3 separate regions of the Homo sapiens genome follow, and all the other regions are linked to region 2. The links are contacts of gene promoters, found by promoter capture Hi-C in blood cells and fetal thymus (Javierre and others, 2016). All regions are on one chromosome and are shown on one strand. The core of a region is centred on a gene start or on the middle of the fragment in contact, and the rest is flanking DNA. Distances in the headings are between cores, read along the strand shown.

What was found. Contacts are between HindIII fragments. The CHiCAGO score rates a contact against its expected background, and 5 or more counts as called.
Region 1: the fragment with the promoter of PABPC1L here is called in contact with a fragment that was not itself captured in region 2 in 1 of 17 cell types (endothelial precursors); the score reaches 7.0 in endothelial precursors.
Region 3: a contact is called between the fragment with the promoter of TOMM34 here and a fragment that was not itself captured in region 2, in 1 of 17 cell types (endothelial precursors). The highest score is 6.8, in endothelial precursors.

The regions. Positions count from the first base shown.
Region 1 is chr20:44,908,116-44,911,822 of GRCh38, reverse strand. PABPC1L (poly(A) binding protein cytoplasmic 1 like) reads right to left here and starts at 1,763. Exons shown (of 15, transcript NM_001372179.1): 1 at 1,487-1,763. The coding sequence starts at 1,679. YWHAB (tyrosine 3-monooxygenase/tryptophan 5-monooxygenase activation protein beta) reads right to left here. Exons shown (of 6, transcript NM_139323.4): 6 at 3,291-3,707. RefSeq lists a silencer at 1,580-1,909. The HindIII fragment of the contact is 5,219 bases long and covers 1-2,211 here.
Region 2 is chr20:45,289,083-45,292,767 of GRCh38, reverse strand. LOC105372630 (a long non-coding RNA gene) reads right to left here. Exons shown (of 3, transcript XR_936763.3): 3 at 2,416-2,692. Among named protein-coding and RNA genes, the nearest start is that of RBPJL, 16 kb to the left of the region's middle. The HindIII fragment of the contact is 879 bases long and covers 1,313-2,191 here.
Region 3 is chr20:44,959,147-44,963,184 of GRCh38, reverse strand. TOMM34 (translocase of outer mitochondrial membrane 34) reads left to right here and starts at 2,788. Exons shown (of 7, transcript NM_006809.5): 1 at 2,788-2,978. The coding sequence starts at 2,852. LOC124904912 (a long non-coding RNA gene) reads right to left here. Exons shown (of 2, transcript XR_007067599.1): 2 at 3,648-4,038. RefSeq lists a silencer at 2,530-2,609 and enhancers at 2,840-2,929, 2,940-2,989, 3,770-3,859. The HindIII fragment of the contact is 1,710 bases long and covers 2,019-3,728 here.

The sequences.
Region 1 (3,707 bases), core at 514-3,013, 380 kb after region 2:
TAAATACCTGGGGCAAAACCCTTCTCTCTGCAGCACGGTTTCCAGGCCGAGTCCCACTTCATTCACAGGGCTTGGAGGAAGATGGGAAGAGGCAGGAGGTGGAGCAAAGCAGAACAAACAGAAAAGTGCCCAGGAATCCAGCCCAGTAAGGGGCGGGGAACAGGCCCGGCGGAACAACCCCTTCCCTAGCAAACCACCCACTCAGGCAACCACCAGGTTCACCCAGGCGACCTGGCGCAAGGGATCCCTCTAGTGGACGCCGGCCATTTTTTGGGTGAGTTTCTGGAGTCTTACATCAGAATGTTAAAGCCACTATTTTCGTTGTTGTTTCTTTTTTGTTTGTTGTTTTGTTTTGTGTTGAGATGGAGTCTCGCTCTGTTGCCCGGGCTGGAGTGCAATGGCGCAGTCTCGGCTCACTGCAACCTCTGCCTCCCGGATTCAAGCGATTCTCGTGCCTCAGCCTCCCCAGCAGTTGGGATTACAGGCGTCCGCCATCATGCCCAGCTATTTTTTGTATTTTTAGTAGAGAAAGGGTTTCGCTATGTTGGCCAGGCTGGTCTCGAACTCCTGACCTCAAGTGATCTGCCCACCTCGGCCTCCTAAGATGCTGGGATTACAGGCGTGAGCCACTGCGCCTGGCCTTATTTATTTATTTATTTATTTATTTATTTATTTATTTATTTATTTTAGGTTACCACTTAAGAGCGTTTACGAGGTAACAAGCAGTTACCATTCTTTATGCATAGACAGCAGTTCTCCATTCTTTATGTTATTGGAGAATACGCCTTAGCCCCATTTTGCAGATGAAAAGGTGCAGAGCGTGAAGGCTTGCCCAAGCTCACTCATCCTCTCCACTCTCAACAGAAGTGCAGGCAAACTCATCGGACAAGCTCTAATCAATGCTATCAGCTCTGAGAAAGCGGCCTTGCGGCCTGGAGGCAGCGGTTTTTCAGAGCCCGTGCAGGTAGAGGCGCCCAGTGTGGATCTCACGTCGCGCTGGGAAAGGCCTGAGCCCAAGGCTGGGTTCTCCTGCCTCCCCTGCTCACCAGCTGTGTTGCCTTGGGCATCTTCCTCACCAGGTGCTTTGAATCTCTCATCCTCACAAGCACTCTATAAGGCAGCTAGGACCCCCATTTTCCAGACACGCATCTGAAGCTCAGAATGGTCGAGTAACTTGCCCAGAGTCACACGGCTGCTGGGCTTCTATCCCTGGTCCGCCTGACCCCCACCCCCACCCCCACAAAGCCTGTATCTGTTTTCACTCGACCCTAATCTCTCTCCTCTGTAGAGGAATAGCAGTAAACCACACTAATTACCAATTCCCGTCTCAGGGGCCAGGCCTCTGCCAACGCCCTGTTATCTTTGAGCCTCAGTTTCCCCGGCTGCAAAGTGTAAGATGAAAGCGCAAGCGGCCCAGTTCCGGCTTCTGTCTGTCCGCCTGCTTGTCCGTCGGTCCTTCCCCTCCCGCCCCATCCCCGGGGCTCACCGTCCGCGGGCTGCTGGAAGTTGATGTAGGCGTAGCCCAGCGAGCGCCGGGTGGCTACATCGCGGCACACGCGGATGGACAGGATGGGGCCGGCGGGAGAGAACTTCTCATAGAGCATGGCCTCGGTCACGTCGGGGTGCAGATCGCCCACGTAAAGCGAGGCAAGCGGGTAGCCAGAACCGCTGGCGTTCATGGTGGGCAGGGGGCCGGGGCTGCGGGGCAAGCAGGAGCCGGGTCACCCAGCAGCCCCGCGCTCACCCGGGCGGAAGCCCTCCTTCCTGGGCGCGGGCCCGCCCCTTCCCTTTACCGCCCCCGCGTCCCTGCGCACCAATCGTGGGCGCGCTCGGACGCCCCTCCCCCGGGATCCCTCCTGGGCCCACCCCCCACCTGCGAGCACTTGGGGATCTAAAAGCTACAGGTGGGGACACCTCTGACCCCGCCCTGGGAGGCGGAAAAAGCCTTCAACCTGGCCTTGAGCAGGGCTGCTGGGACTTGAGTGGAGCTCTCAAAACCCCCAGCTCTTTTGAAAGAGCCGAGGACTGGGACGGAAAGGACGCAGGGGACTGAGTTCTAACCCCGGAACAGATGATCATCTTTCTGAACCCGTTTCCCTTCTCTGTAAAATGGGAATGATTCCCTCCTGACAAGAATGAAAGGAGACCCAAACCGCGCTTTTTGCGTTTCACACACAAACGGAATTCCGAACAGGCCACTGTTTCAAAGCTTGTGTAGAGAATTTTACCCTGCTCCATTGAAGATGTCTTCCTCCAGAGAGCCTGATCCAGTCCCACCGTTTCGCACCAAGGATGGAAATGGCTTTGAGACATGAGAACTGGAGACCACTAAGGCCTTTCTTGGTACTGGCTCATATTACCAAGACCCCTTTTCCTGGGATATTCCCTGTCCCTCTGCTAAGCCATTACACATCCATTACACCAGGGAGGTTCACTGAGTTACTTGTGGCTCAGCCTAAATGCGGACAATTGGGAACTAATAGCAGAGCAAGACCTAAACAGAGCAAGACTGTGAATCTGAGCTTGCAGCGTCAATCTGTGGTATAGGGACATTAAAAACAACACAAAAACAAAACAACTACTCCACTGAGCACCAATACTTCACTTTTCCTCTGATAGGACTTTCCTGGTCTCACTGATCCAACAGAGCAGGTAGGCCCCCACTGACTTTTGGTTGAGTGTGGCTTCAACAGGTGGAACAGCTCCTAAACTAGGGACAGAAGGTGCCCATCTGGCTGTCCAGCCTCAGAGTAGCAAGGAAGCACTAATTCTAATCTTGGGCTAAAAAAGACCCCTCTATCCTGATATTTTTCTCTCCTTGTGGTAATGTGGATGTTTTCAGAAGGGGCAAATCCTGTGAGGAACCAGCTCTGCAGGCCACCATACAGTGTGAGGACAGGTGAGACGCCAGCTTGGTGATGACCAAGACTTATGCAACCATAGGTTACCTATTTCACTGGCTTGGTTGTATCTCAGAGTTAAAAAATGGGGAAGGGATGGTGGGCTCGAATACAATGCAAAATAACTGTCCATACCAAATCTTAGAAGTCACTAAAGAGGACCTAATACCTGCATGGTTTGTTGTGGAAGGTAGAGAGGTATCAAGTAACGGGTGTAAAGAGGCTGTTTAATTAATGGTAATTTCTTCCCCTGGATAACACCTTGACTTCTGGTCCTAAATAATGAAATAAAACTGTTTGCCTATTTTTAAAGAAAACAGAGTTAAAAATAAGTGTGATCAGAATAGTTAGCTAGGTCTGGTAACAACAGAGATGGTGGTGACACATCAATTCACAGGCAACTAACTGATAAAATTTTTATTTCACTTTTGAATTTTTACACTTTTCCTGATTATTCTGTGTAAGGTGAAACTAGAACTGTTTAAAAGACATACACAAATCTAGTACATCAATAACCGGGGATTTTTCTTTTTTGCTATACTATTTTCACAACCACGGGTGTGCTTGCTAGGCAATATAACCATCACAGAAGCAAACGTTAGGCAGAATACTGGTAAGAAAAAACAAAGCAAGAAAAGAGCTACCAGATATACAGACAGGCTTGGTTCCACATTCACTACTGCATTTTCAAGCGCCAAGTATTAACTGCACATTTTTGTTCAGCTAGAAAGGAGGGATTTTTTTTTTTGTTTTTTTCTTTTTTTTTGGTTTGTTTTAAATCAGTGCATAAATTTTTCTTTTCTCATT
Region 2 (3,685 bases), core at 503-3,002:
TGGAGACTGGAATTGTTACCCCCAAGCGTGATGGGGAGAATCAAGGACATTCTTCTAAGGCATGTGCCTTGTACCTATCCCTCAATTAATGGTAGCTATTAACTGTTCTTATAGTAACAGCTAACATATTTAGTGTTGGGCATTATTGTAACTGATTTGCAGGTATTTTCATTTTATACTTGGAACCAGTGAAATAAGAATTATTGCCTTTATCATCCCCATTTTACAGATGAGGACACTGAGACACAGAAAGGTTAAGTTTCCAACAGTAACATAACCAGTACGAAGCTGAACCAGGATGTTTCCTATGGCTGCTCTAATAAGTTACCACAAATTGAGTGGCTAGCAACACACATTTATTACCTTACAGTTTTTAGGTCAGAAGTCTAAGATGTGTTGGCAAGGCTTTATTCCTTCTAGAGGCTTTTGTTTCCTGGCCTTTTCCAGCTTCTAGAGGCTACCTGAATTCCTTGGGTCATGGCCCTACATCACTTCAGACTCAGTTTCCATCAGCACATCTCTTTCTCTGACTCTGACCTTCCCGTCTCTGTCTTATAAGGACCCTTCTGTTTATATTGGCATGACCTTGATAATCAAAGATAATCCCATCTCAAGCTATCTTTTTTTTTTTTTGAGATGGAGTTTTTGCTCTTGTTGCCCAGGCTGGAGTGCAATGGTGCGATCTCGGCTCACTGCAACCTCCGCCTCCTGGGTTCAAGCGATTCTCCTGCCTCAGCCTCCTGAGTAGCTGGGATTACAGGTGTATGCCACCACTCCCAGCTAATTTTTTGTATTTTTAGTAGAAACAGAGTTTCTCCATGTTGGTCAGGCTGGACTTGAACTTCCGACCTCAGGTGATCCGCCTGCCTCAGCCTCCCAAAGTGTTGGGATTACAGGCGTGAGCCACCGCGCCCAGCCTCAAGCTCTCTATCTTAACCACATCTGCAAAGTCCCTTTTGTCGTGTGAGGTGAAATCACAGGTGCCGGGGATTAAAATGTGTACATCTTTGTGGGGAAGGCCATTCTGCCTACCACATGGGGCTTGAAGCCAGGCTGACTGACTTCAGAGCAGCTGCTCTTAAGTACTCTGTGCCGGGCACCTTGCTAGGCTTGGTGAAGAGGGAGAAACTGATGATTGAGAAAAACTCTTGAGCTGAGGAAGCTCCGGGCTAGAAGGGCTGAGGTCCACCTGACTGTTGCAGAAAGAGGGAACTTCAGATGAGAGGAGGGAGAAATCCTGGAGAGGTGATCCTTAAACGGTGGCTGGAATTTCCGCAGGAGGCCATGGAAGACTTTACAGGTGAGTGAAGCTTGAACTATGCGTGGTCAGGAGGGACTGGAGTATGGGGGGATGGGAATGATCATCTTACCTGGCCATGAGGATCAGATGAGCTAAAGACCTATGGACTTGGCATGTGACCTCACCTTGCCTTACCATTCATTTTACAGTTGGGGAAACTGAGGCCTAGAGGCCAGAGTTGCCTGCCCAAGGTCACACAGAGAGAAAACATCAGTTGCACCAGGAAGAAGCCTAGTGGGGAGGTCAAACTGGAGCAGGGTAGTCAACTGATAGGGGGCACTGAGGGCAAAGGCCAGGCTCCTTCCTTCCTCTTCCCTGGAGTTGGCAGGCACTGGCTTCTCTGGGGTTTCTTTTCTCATGCTTTTTTCTCTTGCAATCTCCCTAATGGCCACTGGATGGCGCCGGGAGCACTGATTTGGAGCTGGGTCCTAGAGCCTTCGCAGGCCGTTGGCATCTGGCACTTGGGCTGCAGAGCCTGTCCTCCCTTAATTCCCCGACTCTGGCAGCCCCACCACCGAAGTCTACAAGCTGCTTCTGTTCCCATGCAGTGGCCCCATAGTCCTGGATTTGAAGACCAGCCCTGCTACTTACCAGGTGTGTGTTGGTGTTGACAGGTACTGGTTCCCTTTCTCACTTCTTGATTCCTTTCTCTCATTTCCCTTTCCTCCTACCAGCTTAACCCTGCTGGATACAGGGAATTCCTGTTCCCTAACCATGCCCCACATAAGGTCAGCTAGCGCTTGCTTCTTTGTTTATACCCCCATCTTACGTTATGGGATAGAAGACTTACAAAGGACCCGTGAATTCAGGAAAACAAACATCCATTAACTCAAGAACAGAAAGTGAGAACCCAAGTAACAGTGTGAGGAGAGTAACACTGCCAAGAAAGCTTAGATGGAGAAGGCACCGAGCCCGAACAAAGACCCCCGGGCCCGGGTCTTTTGGTACCCAGGCAAGCACGGGTTTATGTGGCTTTCAGAGCCTGTTAAGATCAGGAATAAAGCACGTAGATATTGGGGGAGTCCTGAGCCCAGGTGTGTGGAGAGAACTCAGCGCCCTCAGCCTTCTTGGTTCCCTGGAGAGTTTGAATCATTAAAAAACGACAATATCTTCCCTAGTGGTTAGCAGAGATGCCACTTCTGGAGCTGTTTCTTAGACTTAGTAACATGAACTAGGCATGGCCTTGGGTGGGAAAGGGCAGGGCAGGAAGGGCCTGTAACTTCAGCCAAGTGCTGGACTCGCTTTCTGAATTTCACCTCTGTGTTGTCTGGCTCTGTTTCTCCGTGGTTTTTGGCCTTTCTCTTCTTCTATTCTAGCTCACAGCTCTCTCCATTTCTGCAGCCGGCACAGCTGCTGTCTCTAAGGACTGTCTACTCTTCTGGTTCTTTGGACCTAGGATAGTGAAACAGGAGAGAAAACTATCAATTACCAAACACTGGCCTGCATGCTGGGGGCCAGGCTGTGCCTTTCATCTGTGTTGTCTCGTTGAAACCTCTCAACCTACAGGAGGGAAAACTGAACTTGAAAGAGGCCAGTTAGTTGCCCAAGGCCCAGAGCTTCCAAGTTAGGGTTTGAACCCAGGTGGTCTTGATCCCAGAGTAGGCCCATTTCACATTTCTACCCTTCAGTTATTAGGGACAAATTTGGACTTTTTCAAAGAAACCTTTTTCAGGAAGTTTATGGAGTAGACCAAAGCAAAGCCCGAGATACAGTGCAGGTGAATGGCAGGAGCCGCTCTGCCGTTTGTCAGCAGCACAGCCTCCATGGGACACTTTTGCCTCAGTGTCCCCTCTTGTAAAACCTGTGAGCAGGCCAGGCATGGTGGCTCACACCTGTAATGCCAAGCACTTTGGGAGGTTGAGGCGGGCGGATCACAAGGTCAGGAGTTCAAGACCAGCCTGACCAACATGGTGAAGCCCCGTCTCTACTAAAAATACAAAAATTAGCCGGGTATGGTGGCATGTGCCTGTAATCCCAGCTACTCAGGAGGCTGAAGCAGGAGAATCGCTTGAACCCAGGAGGCAGAGTTTCAGTGAGCCAAGATCGCGCCACTGCACTCCAGCCTGGGCGACAGAGGGAGACTCCGTCTCAAAAACAAACAAAACCAAGAAACAAAACAATAACAACAACAAAAAAAACCTGTGGGCAACGCCAACCTCATAGGTTAAAAGGAAAGAGCGAAGTCATTGATGAATGTGAACATGCACAGTGGATGATCAGGAAGGGCCCCTTTCTCTGCAGGCCATTACTTGCCCTTTTTCCACACCCTCCCACTCATTTGAAGTGGCGTGGCTTCAGATCCCCAGGCCCAATGAAGAAGTTCGGCCACATCACACAATGAAAAGCAAATTGCTGTTAAATACACAGAGGAGGGCATAAGCAGCT
Region 3 (4,038 bases), core at 1,539-4,038, 330 kb after region 2:
TTTGGAAAATAAAATTTGCCACAGCTACACTTATCCGATAAACCACTCAGGAAATATTCAGCTGCAAGCAAGTGAAAACATCTAAATGTTGGCTTAAAGCACCATGGCATTTACTGTTTGTTTTGAGACAGAGTCTCGCCGTATTGCCCAGGATGGACCACAGCAGCCCAGTGATCTGGGCTCACTGGATTCAAGCAATTCTCCTGCCTCAGCCTCCTGAGTAGCTGGGATTACAGGCGCATGCCACCACGCCCAGCTACTGTTTGTATTTTTAGTAGAGATGGGGTTTCACCATGTTGGCCAGGTTGGTCTCAAACTCCTGACTTCAAGTGATCCGTCCACCTCGGCCTCCCAAAGAGCTGGGATTACAGCTGTGAGCCACCACACCTTGCCTTTATTGTTTATTAATAAGCTAATAAGTCAGCAGTTGATTCAATGACTCAGCAATATCTATTTCATTTTTTCCCCTCCCATCCTACTCAGCATGTTGGCTTTTCATACTTGTGTTTATTGCCTCATGGTTGCAAAATGACTGCCACACCTCCAGGTATCATATCCTTAACCCAGCACTACCCAAAGCAGAAAAAGAGCAAGAATGGCTACTTGACCCAGTACCTCTCTGTTATGGGGAGGGAAACCTTTCCCATAAACACTCAGCAGACTCTTTTTTTTTTTTTTTTTTTTTTTTGAGACGGAGTGTTGCTCTGTCGCCCAGGCTGGAGTGCAGCAGTGCAATCTCAGCTCACTGCAACCTCCACCTCCCGGGTTCAAGCTATTCTCCTGCCTCAGCCTCCTGAGTAGCTGGGACTACAGGTGCGTGCCACCACCCCAGCTAATTTTTTGTATTATTAGTAGAGATGGGGTTTCACTGTGTTAGCCAGGATGGTCTCGATTTCCTGCCTTGTGATCCACCCGCCTCGGCCTCCCAAAGTGCTAGGACTACAGATGTGAGCCACTGCGACCAGCCTCAGACTCCCTTTTATCTCATTGCCCAGATCAGCATCACATGTGCATCCCTTGATGAATCACTGGCAAGAGAAAATGACATTTTTCTAATTGGCTTAGAGCAATCCTGATTCACTTCCCCAGGCTGGGAGAGTCTCAGGCAAAATTCAGGCTCCTGGAAGCAAAGATGGAAGTCACTGAGTAGCCAGCCAGCAGCATGGGCCTCATCTGGTTTTCCCACCACAGTCAGTGTTCATCCTTGGTCGGGGCAGAGGGCAAGGGGAAGCATTTCAGATGGAACAGCCATCCAGCCCTCAGAAAGCTTATAGTCTGGTGGAGTTAAGTGTATGCAGATCATTATAACTGAATTCCTGAAGGTAGAGACTAGATCTTTATCAATCAATGACTTTTATTGGATGCCAGACCCTATTAGGGTCTTGGATAAACAAAGATAAAAAGGACCCACTTCCTGCCATTAAAGACCTCGCAGTGTTTAAGGAAAACTACAAACTGGCAATCAAAGGGTGACTAATGCAAAGTTAGGGATAAAGCTAGAGACCAATAGGGAGCAAAGGGAGCATAGTGGGGGGTGGGGAGGGGGCTGGAAGCAGGAAAGGCTTTCAGAGAAGATGATGTTTGAATGGAATGTTATAAGTTAATTCAGGATTAGGCAGGAGAAAAAGTATTTAGAAAAAAAAATCCAGGAGAAGGAGATAACAAGCAAAGGCTAGGAAGCAAGAATTTAGTGTGTGTAGATAGCAATGCGTGGGACATAGAGTCGTCAGATGAGGCTGGAGATAAATTGAAGTCACACTCTGTGAAAGATCTTCATCCATTCTGAAAGCTGATCATACGAATTGGGTCATTCTTGTCATATCCAACTAAGACAGAATTGAAAAGCCAGGGGAACAAATACTCAGGGCATATAACATTGCTCCAAAAAAGTAATTTTTTGCAAGCCTGGCTGCTAAAACTGCCTGCTGTAACCTAAAACCAGTTTTATCTAATAGCTACTGAAACAGCCTGCTACAATTCTGAGTTTTATCCACCACTATCACTTACCAATCAAAGCTTGCCAGCTCCCCAAGAAGCTGATAAACCCCCACTTTACTAGTGCCTGTAAACTTCCTTGAAGAGCAATATGTAACATTTCTGTTTTATAAAAATCTCCAAACCTTCTCTTTGTTCTTCTGACATACCAAAGACAACCTGGTCTGTGTGTAAGCCCTGAATTGCAATTCTTGATTGCCAAATAAAATATTTAAACTTTAGAGATTCATCTCTATATGTTGACTTTGACACCATCAATCCACCTGTGCATTAATTTATTAAATAAATATCTATAGAGCACTAGGTACCAGGTACTTTCTAGCCTTGGAACCTTTGCACTTACCATCCCTCTGGCTGGAACAGCATTCCCTAAATCTTGTCTGGTCTCAGCTCAACTATTACCCCCTGAGAAAGGCCTTCCTTCATCCCCTTATTTAAAATAGCCCACACGTGGTCACTTTCCATTGCATTATCCTGTTTTGTTTTCCTTACAGCACTAATCACATGAAATGAGAGTCTTCGTTTGCTTATCAGTTAATTGCCTGTGGGGACCCCACTAGGACATAATCTCCCTGATAGCGGGGCCAGCCTCCTTCCCTGCGTCATCCACGGCGTTCTAGCAACTCAGGGAGCCCAGAGCATGCTGCCGCCCCGCGTGCAAGGGAGCCTAAGTTCCAAACCGAGCACGCGCAGAGGGCGGGACGCTCCGGGCCTCCAGGTCTCGCAGGCCCCGCCCCCTCGCCGCGGGTTCGCTGTTGGGCGGAGATATTCGCCGCCGGCGCTTGCGCCCGGAAGGTGTGCCGCACCACACGGGGGAGGAAGGAAGGAGCTCCCAACTCGCCGGCCTGGCCACGGGATGGCCCCCAAATTCCCAGACTCTGTGGAGGAGCTCCGCGCCGCCGGCAATGAGAGTTTCCGCAACGGCCAGTACGCCGAGGCCTCCGCGCTCTACGGCCGCGCGCTGCGGGTGCTGCAGGCGCAAGGTACGACCCCGGCCCCCATCTCACCTCCGGGCCTGCTCCTCCAACTCCCGCAACCACCGCCCGGGCCTCGCGCGGCGGCCAGCAGTCCTGCCCGGCCCTCCCACCCTTCCAGCCCCTTCCGACTCCGGCATCCTACCAGAAACTTCCTCGGCCCTTTCTTTCCACCTGCTTGTTAACTGCCCTGTTGGCCCCCATCCTAAGTTATTTAGGCCTCGTTCTGAGCCCTGAGAAGAAAGCTAAACCCTCCTCCCCCGCAGCAATTCATTTTTCAGTTAGTATTTGTTGAGTAGCTGTTATATACCGCCTGTGTAACAAGACACAAAAAGTCCCTTCTCTCAAGGACAGCGCATTCTTGTGGGGGCGGTGGGGAGGACGTGAGTCTTAAGCGAGTCAGTAAGTAAACGAGACCTGTGGGATAATCAGGGTTAGGAAGAAGACAAATAGGGTGATGTGATAGAGTTGACTGGAGTGGGAGATCAAGGGCAACATCTGTAAAGAAGTGATATTTGAGGTGATGTCTAAATGATGAGAAGCCAAGCGCACAAGGTTTTCGGTCCTGAAGTGAACTGCAATGAGAAAGGCCCCCCCTCCAAGACGATATAAACATGGTGTGTTTCAGGGGTCAAAGCATAGTGAGCCAGGGCAGGGAATAGGAAGACATGAGGTCAGTTAGGAAGGCAGACCCTTATTTATTGTGGAGGTGTTGTAAACTCTGCTAAGGAGTTCGGATTTCATGCCAAACTGGAAGCTTGGCATGAAAGCTGCTGGATGGGAAGCTACTGGAGAGTTTGAAACAGAAGAATAGCATATTCTTACCAGTTCTCCCAGCGTCCAGCTTTCGTCAGCATACCGCAGACCTTTGCCCAAAGCCCCTTCTCCAGGGTGACTTAATCAGAAACCCTCATTGGTTAAAGCCTTGACTTTTGAAAGGAGCCTTGGATCCTGGTTTCTGTGAGTCACCGTTCAGTACCTATTTCCCTTTGCCGCCTTCCTTTTTTTCCTTTTCTTGGCTAGCATCTCTTGAGTGATTTACCATGTGCTAGACATTTTAGACACGATC